3 separate regions of the Homo sapiens genome follow, and all the other regions are linked to region 3. Evidence: promoter capture Hi-C in 16 types of primary human blood cells and fetal thymus (Javierre and others, 2016). All regions are on one chromosome and are shown on one strand. The core of a region is centred on a gene start or on the middle of the fragment in contact, and the rest is flanking DNA. Distances in the headings are between cores, read along the strand shown.

Evidence for each region. The method cuts DNA at HindIII sites, captures the fragments that hold promoters and counts their contacts. A CHiCAGO score of 5 or more calls a contact.
Region 1: a contact is called between a fragment that was not itself captured here and the fragment with the promoter of ZNF513 in region 3, in 1 of 17 cell types (erythroblasts). The highest score is 5.6, in erythroblasts.
Region 2: a contact is called between a fragment that was not itself captured here and the fragment with the promoter of ZNF513 in region 3, in 1 of 17 cell types (naive B cells). The highest score is 5.5, in naive B cells.

What each region holds. Positions count from the first base shown.
Region 1 is chr2:27,596,918-27,599,705 of GRCh38, forward strand. It overlaps ZNF512 (zinc finger protein 512), which reads left to right. Exons shown (of 14, transcript NM_032434.4): 3 at 1,150-1,337; 4 at 2,666-2,761. Among named protein-coding and RNA genes, the nearest start is that of ZNF512, 15 kb to the left of the region's middle. The HindIII fragment of the contact is 2,753 bases long and covers 1-2,752 here.
Region 2 is chr2:27,573,578-27,576,375 of GRCh38, forward strand. SPATA31H1 (SPATA31 subfamily H member 1) reads left to right here. Exons shown (of 5, transcript NM_032266.5): 5 at 1-2,798. Among named protein-coding and RNA genes, the nearest start is that of ZNF512, 8.1 kb to the right of the region's middle. The HindIII fragment of the contact is 237 bases long and covers 1,338-1,574 here.
Region 3 is chr2:27,379,290-27,382,018 of GRCh38, forward strand. It overlaps ZNF513 (zinc finger protein 513), which reads right to left and starts at 1,445. Exons shown (of 4, transcript NM_144631.6): 1 at 1,183-1,445; 2 at 804-959. The coding sequence starts at 1,237. PPM1G (protein phosphatase, Mg2+/Mn2+ dependent 1G) reads right to left here. Exons shown (of 10, transcript NM_177983.3): 10 at 1,910-2,516. The coding sequence ends at 2,310. RefSeq lists an enhancer at 1-57 and a silencer at 1,198-1,417. The HindIII fragment of the contact is 8,929 bases long and covers 1-2,729 here.

The DNA of each region.
Region 1 (2,788 bases), core at 126-2,625, 220 kb after region 3:
GCTTTAAAATAAGCTGCTTTATGTGTGGATTTGTTTTTAGCTTGCTGAACTGACATTGTGCTAGAGATACTGTTTTGTTTCTTTTTTCATTCAACAATATACTTTTTAGTTATGGTCGTGTCTCTATGTGTAGAATTAGTTTATTGCTTCTAACAGCAGCACAGTATTCCATAGTAGGCATCTATCACATTTTGCAAGGATGGTCACTGTGTTACTTCCAACTCCCTGATGTCATAAGCAAACCTCTCTATGTGTAATTCTTATTAGCTCTACATCTAAAGTGTTACCTTGAATCTGCCAATTCAAGTTAACTTTTTTCCTTTTGTTTACTCTTTCTCCCATGGGCTGTCTCCATAGAGCAGCCAGAAGGATCTTTCTGAACCATAAATCTAAAGTAGGCCTCACAGGTATTTAGCTGGAAAAGGGAGGTTCTAGGAGTCCATTGACCACTCTTGGAGAACTGCTGCTCTGCTGCATCTTGAGCCACCTAGAAGAATGTCTGATGCTTTGTAGTTACAGAGTAATGTTTTTTAGCTGTCATACTGACTGGTCTTAGATTTTGGAATCTGGATTCAGCTGTATACCAGAAATCTCTGGCCAGGTTAATTCATGCAAGATAGCATCCATCCTTTAGCTGTGGAAGCTAAGTATCATGTTGCCTAAATAAGATAGGGCATCAGGTTTTAGGGAGAATGCTGAGGCAGAAGGAAGATGAGTCAGATTAGGGCCCACAGACTATTCCTTTCCCTTAGAGATACCCTTTAGTTGCCATCCCTCTGTCAGAGAAAGAGAGAGGCTGGGACATACCAGGTTACAAATCCAGGGAGTCTTCTGAAGGGTCATAGAACACCTTTATTGCTTCACCTACTTTCTTTTATTAGATGAATCTAGGAAGGAATGTCTACTTGGGCTGCAAAGTGATCATTTATGTGTACTGCTTACTCTTATTACAATGAAGTGTGATAATAATTGTACATGTTGTGTTAGATCAACTATTGTTATTGTTAGGTGATTACAACTTACATTCTGTTTTTATAGCAGGCTTCTTAGTTTTCTGCAGAGGTAACCAACTTGGTTATAATGTAAAAGAATGTATAGAAATTTTGCTCCAGACCTTCCTTTGTGGTATATATTTTTATGTTGTATTAGTAGCAGGACCCAGTGCTCCATAAAGGATAATAGTTTCCAGTACACTATCCCTCATGATGACTCCTTAAGTGGTTCATCGTCTGCATCTTCGTGTGAACCAGTGAGTGATTTTCCAGCATCTTTCCGAAAATCTACCTACTGGATGAAGATGAGAAGAATCAAGCCAGCTGCTACTTCTCATGTCGAAGGTATCAATATCAGTGTCTTATTCTGAAGACGGGCCACTTCCTAAAGTTATAGTTTGAGATTGTTATAAATACCTCTTAAAAGTATTAAATGGCGGCTGAGCGTGGTGGCTCACGCCTGTAATCCCAGCACTTTGGGAGGTCGAGGCGGGCGGATCACAAGGTCAGGAGATCGAGACCATCCTGGCTAACATGGTGAAACCCCGTCTCTACTAAAAATACAAAAAATTAGCGGGGCCTGGTGGTGGGCGCCTGTAGTCCCAGCTACTCAGGAGGCTGAGGCAGGAGAATGGCATGAACCTGGGAGGCAGAGGTTGCACTGAGCAGAGATCGCACCATTGCACTGTAGCCTGGGCGAAAGAGCGAGACTCCGTCTCAAAAAAAAAAAAAAAAGAGTATGAAATGCCACATATTTGTTTCTCATTAGTGATTTAAAAAAATTTAAGGTGTTAGGCAATTGCATCCTGTCCCATTAGCTTCATGAACTGCTATGTGATAGAGTGAAATTCTGCTAATCTTACTCCTCTAGATTATATTTAGCATTTGATTTTCCTCTTTGTAGTATTTGAATTCCCCTTTTCTTCTTCTTTTTTTTTTGAGACGGAGTTTCACTCTTCTTGCCCAGACTAGAGTGCAATGACTCGAGCTCAGGCTCACCGCACCCTCCTTCTCCTGGGTTCAAGCGATTCTCCTGCCTCAGCTTGTAATGCCAGCTGAGTAGCTGGGATTACAGGCATGTGCCACCACACCTGGCTAATTTTGTATTTTTAGCAGAGACGGGGTTTCTCCATGTTGGTCAGGCTGGTCTTGAACTCCTGACCTCAGGTAATCCGCCCACTTTGGCCAAAGTCTGTAATCTCAAAGTGCTGGGATTACAGATGTGAGTCACCATGGCTGGCCCCCCTTTTCTTCTAGTGTGATCCTCTGTTGATGATTTAGGGGCTGGTGTAAGGATTATTCAGGGGAGAATATTCTGGATCGTCACAATCTCAAGGGTCCTTGGTGGCTAGCCCTCTATCTTGAGCAATTCTTATCCTCTTGTTAGCCTCAAGTCAAGATTAAGCAAAACACATTGCTTGAATGCCCTTATTATTCATAAGGAACAATGGATGATTTGGAATAGATAACAATATAAAAAGAAAGGGAGAGTGGGTCAGTTAATGAGAAGTTACACCAACTTCTCTAAAAATGTCACAGACATTTCTCTGAGGCCTGTGTTCACTGATGATCTTTCCTTTTGATGGTCTTGTGAATGATGTTTTGAAGACAGGCCTAGATGTTCATTTACAAAGTGTGCTGAGTTTTTGTTTTGTTTTTGTATGGTACTTCAGGGTCAGGTGGAGTATCAGCCAAGGGGAAAAGGAAACCCAGGCAGGAAGAAGATGAAGACTATCGAGAATTTCCTCAGAAGAAGCATAAGCTTTATGGTAAGGCAGTAACTTTGCTACTTCTTT
Region 2 (2,798 bases), core at 206-2,705, 190 kb after region 3:
GAGAACTGTGAAATCATGTGGCCCAATTTCAACATCAAAGCTCTGTGATATAAAATCTATGGCATTCAAACCTGGGCTTCACTCGCAAGATGTGAAATCTTCTGAGTTGACCCCAAGACCACAGCTGCACAAAGTGAAACCCTTGGAGGCATGCCCAGGAACACAGCTGCAAGATGTGAAGTCTCCAGCGTTTACACAAGTGCCACAGTTTTCAGGGGTGAAATCTGGAGTATTAAGCCAAGAGCTACCATTACAAAGTGATAAAACTGTAGCGCTGAACTCCTTACTACACTTGAAAAGCAAGAAATCATCTGAATTGGCTCATCAGACAGAACTTCCAGGTATGAAATCTGAGGAGTTCAACTCTGGGCCACAATGGCAATGTGTCAAATCTTCTAAGTTGAACCCTAAGACAAAGTCCCAAGACATGAAGTTTAGAGAGTTAAACCCCAGTTCACAATTGAAAGATATCCCATATTATGATTTGACCACAAGGACCAAGATTCAAGGTGTCAAATCTACAGACTTCAAACCTGGGCCACAGTTGCAAGGAGTGAAATCTTCTGAGTCGATACCGAAGACAAAGCTTCAAGAAGTGAAATTAATGGAATGCAACTCAGGCCCACGGTTGCAAGATTTGAAATCTTCTAGGTTGATCATTGGTATAAAGTGTCAAGACATTAAATCTATGGATTTCAGTTCTGGACCACACTTACAGACTGTGAAATCTTCTGAAGTGATTCCAGGGGGAAAGCTTCAGGGTGTGAAATCGGTAGAATTCAAACCTAGTCCAAAGTTACAAAGTGAGAAATCTGATTTGACCCTGGGGAGGAAGTTTCCAGGTGTGAAATCTGTAGAGCTGGAATCAGGCCCACAGTTACAAGATATAAAATCTTCTGATCTGATCATGGGTATAAAGCTTCAAGATGTAAAATCTATGAAGTTCAGTTCTGGACAACACTTTCAAGGTATAAAATCTTCTGAGGTAACCTCAGGGACAAGGCTTCAAAGTATGAAATCAATGGATTTCAATTCTGGACAACAGACACAAAGCGAAAAATCTTCTGAGTTGATTCAGGGAACAAACCATCAAGATGTTAAATCTGTAGAATTCCACCATGGTCTAAAGTTACAAGGTGTGACATCTTCTGAGTTAACACCAGAGACAAAGCTTCAAGGTGGGGAATCTGTGGAGTTCAACTCGGGCCCACAGTGGCAAGATACAAAATATTCTAACTCAATAATGGGGACAGAGCTTCAAGATGTAAAATCTATGGAGTTCAGTTCTGGATCACACTTGCAAGGTATGAAATCTTCTGAAGTGATCCCAGCGACAAAGCTTCAAAAAGTGAAATCTGTGCTCATGCCTAGGCCAATGCGGCAAGATGTGAAATCTTCTGAATTGACTGTAGGTACAAAGGTACAGGATAGGACATCTTTGGAGTTAAGCTCAACTTCACAGTTACAAGATAGAAAATTATCTATGTTGACACCAGGGATACACCTTCAGGGTGTGAAATCTGTAGAATATAATCCTGGGGCAAAGTTGGAAGATATGAAATCTGGGTTGATAAAGCTTCAGACGGTGAACTCTACAGAAGGCAACCATGACCCAGAATTGCAGGTTGCAAAACTCTCTAAGTTGGCCTTGGAATCAAAGATTCATAGTGTGGCACCTTCTGAGTTCAATGCTGAAAAGCAGCAGCAAGATGAGAAATCTCATAAATTGAATCCATGGCCAGACCTTCAAAGTGTAAAATTTATGGTGTTCAATCCTGAGCCACATCTGCAACATAGAAAATCTTCAGAATTATGCACAGGGACAAAGCTTCAAGATGTAAAATCTATGAAATTCAATCTTCAGCAACAGTTGCAAGGTGTGAAATCTTCTGAGTTGTGCCTAGGAACAAGGCTTCAAGGTATACAATCTTTAGATTTCAACCCTGGACCACAGTTGCAAGGAACAAAATCTGCCAAGTTGAATCCTGGGCCTGAGCTTCAAGGTATAAAATCTAAGGTGTTCTGCCTTGGACCACATTTGCAAGATGTGAATTCTTCTGTATCCATTCCAGAGCCACCACATCAGTGTGTAAATTCTACTGGGAGCAACTGTGGGCTACCTTTGCAAGGTGTAAATTCTGCATCCATTCCAGCACCTAAACTTCAGTGTATAAGTTCTAATGGGTGCATCCCTGGGCCACATTTGCAAGGTGTGAATTCTGCATTCATTCCACAGCCAAAAGCTCACTGTGTAAATTCTATTGGGTGCAACCCAGGGCCGTATTTACAAGGTATGAAATCGCCTGAATTAACTCCAGTTTCAAAACTTCAAGGTATGAAGTGTTCTGAATTGAACCCAGGGACAGAAATTCAAAGTGAGACACCTATGATGTTCAACCCTATACCACATTTGCAAGGTTTAAAATCTGAATTGACTCCAGGGTCAAAGCTTCTACGTGCAGCACCTATGGAATGCAACCCTGGGCCACAGGTGCAGTATGTGAATTCTTCTGAGTTGAATCCAGGGCTAAAATTGCAATGTATAGATTCTATGGAGTGCAAACTTGCGCCACACTTGCAAGGTGTAGAATCAGGGACAAAATTTCAAGTTATGAAATTTTCTGAGTTGCATCCAGGGCCAGAGCTTCAAGGTATAAAATCTGTTGTGTTCAACTCTGTGCAACATTTACAAGATGTAAAATGTGAACTGACTCCAGGGACAAAATTTCAAGATATAACACCAAAGGAGTTCAACTCTGGCCCGCAGCTGCAAGGTATGAATTCTGAGGAGTTCCATT
Region 3 (2,729 bases), core at 195-2,694:
TTTCCCTCAATGGTCAAGGATCAAGGGCTCACAGTGGATCACAGACTGAAATGAATCCATAATGAAATTAATTCTTGAGACAAGAAAGTAAAAATACGAAAGGGAGAGAGCCCCCAAGACCTTTTTCTAAGCTCTATTGCTAAGGCCCCTTTTAGTAAGGAGCTGATATAAAATAAAACCTATCTCTGAGGCAAAATTTGGAGGGAAGTGGAGACAATGAAAGTAATGCATGTAATACCACTTGCCTGCCTAAAGAACAGATATTTACATGGATCCCCTCAATGACTTTCAAAAAACATCTTGCATAAGTGGATGGGTAGTGCAGCAAATTAGGGTAGGGTGATGCTAAGATCACAGGGAAGAGGGACATGGAAGGATAAAGACAGAAACTAAAACCTCTCAATACAAAAGGAGCTTACGCTGCAGGTGAAAGGGAGTTAGATTAGACCTAAATACTGGGTTGAATGATTTACAGAGAGTTTGCTTCCCTGAACCTCTCTTAAAAGTAAATACACATAAGGAATGGGCTAGGGAGAGAGACAGGGCATTTACTTTTAATCAGTTGCTCCATGTGATTCACCCACCCTCCTATTCCTATCACCTTTGACCAGGCCTCAGAACTTCACCTCAACAAAGTGATGGAAGTGATTGGACCATTAAACAAATGAAGTCATCTAGCTCAAATGTAAACTAAACCAGCCCTCGGTTGTGGCAGGAAATGGTGTTCTGTTCACCTAACCTGCCTCCTGAAGGGCTGGGGTCTCCAGCGGCCGCTAATCCTTAACCAAGACCCGAAAACCCACCTTCCGAGTCTCTCTCGAAGCCCATGAGCTGGTCACTGTTGCCGTCGCCTTCCTCCTCTTCCTCTTCCTCCTCAAACTCCAGATCCTGGCCTAGTAGCAAATCACTCTCCAATACCAGGGCCCCGGGTCCTTCGTCGAGGGAGTCTTCAGTATCCACTGAAGAGGGGAGGGGGCTTGTGGATTCTCCCTCAGGAACCAGCCCTCGTGGACCACACTTCCCGTACTCGCTGACCCACTCTGATTCCCTTAGTGCCTCGGTGGGAAGCTAGGAGTCTGGATCGCCCACTTCATCCCTCAGGAGTCCCCCTCCACCCTGACCTGAGCCCACTCCACTGACCCCACCCCCGCTCCTCTCCCCTCAAGGCCCCTGACCCCTGACCTTTGACCCCCTCGCATTTCACGGGCTGCGGGTGGCTTTGCTTCCTTCGGGGCATCGTGACCGGCTCCAGCCCGACGCGCCTCCGGCCTGCGGCCGCCCGACCCCGCCCCTCCTATCTCGGCCCGCCTGTCTGCCCTTCCTCTCAGGGCCCGCGGGCCGCCCCCATGCAGCGGCGCGGGCCCTGGGCAGCCCCCGGCCCTGGCCCCGGCGCCCAGCTCAGGCCGCTCCCGCCGCCGCCGCCGCTTCCATTCATGGAGCCCCCTACCCCCCTACGGAGACCAGCTGGTACCTCCGTACTCGCTTCCGCTTCCGCCGCCGCAGAGACGCACGGGACGCGTAGTCCGTGGGAAGCGGCCGCGGCGGGAGCCTCAATGGCGTGACCGGGAAGTGATTGTGACGAGGCGGGGAGCAAGCCAATCAGCGGCAGCGGGGAGCCGGCCAGGGAGCAGCGCAGGAGGCGTCCTGCCCGACTCCAGGCTTCAGGCCAGCCAGACCGGTCCCAACCTGTCCCTGGGGGAACTAGATCATTTCTGGCTGCAGGAGGGGGCGAGGGGCAGCCGCGACGCCCGCCAGGCCGGCCTACCAGCAGCTCGCTCTGGGCTCTCCTATACACGCGCAGGACACACACGAGCACACGCACACACTCACATGGGGGCTCGCCACATGCTACAGATGGGACCAAGTCGGGGGCCACGGCAGCAGAAAAAAAAGGACACGATGCGTACGATTAGGTTTTGGCCTTTAGTCTGAAAAAGTGTTGATTGAAAGTGTACAACAGAGAGCGGGTGCAAGCGGCCGAGGGCCATGGAGCCGCCAATAAAAAAGAATGTCCTTAAATAAAGTTCACAGAGTAAAAACCAGAACCGCCAGTCCTTCCCTCCAACACAACAGAGCACAGGCACAGAACCGGTGATGAGCCCGAGGAGCAGAGGCGGCTGGGAAGGACAGCAGAGGCTCCCGGCTGCAGTGTGGAGGGAGAGCCCTCTTTGGAATGGGCGGAGTGAAGCCACCCAGCTCCCCCTGCACACCTCATACCCACTGCTAAGGCTAAAGGAAAAAGACAAAACTCAGTCTCAGGTCCGGAGGGCTCAGAAAACAGTCTAGGTGGGCAGGGGTCTGGATGACTGCTAGTCTCGCTTGGCCTTCTTCTTCTTGTCGCTGTTGCCATTTTCTTCAGCCCCCTCAGTAGAGAGCACCTCCTCTAGTTTTCGCTTGCCACTCTCTGGCTGGAGCTCTGCTGTGTTTCGGGGCTTGAAGCAAATGATGATGCAGGTCATGTTGTCACACCCTGTACCATCCCCAGAAGTGTCTGGTGCCAGGCACTGATCCAGCAGCTAAGAAAGGGATGGGGGTAGCTCAGCCACAGGGTTTGAACACCTTGCCAGGAATCTACAGTCCCACAAGAGGGCTGGCTTGCTGAGTCAGGGTGGTAGGAGAGGAATGGGCAAGAGGTATCACACAACGGCCCACCTGCTAGTCCATAAGGCATAAGGCTAAGTCAGGGAAATGACAGAAGGTGGAACTTTGGAGTCGGGGTTTAGCGTCTG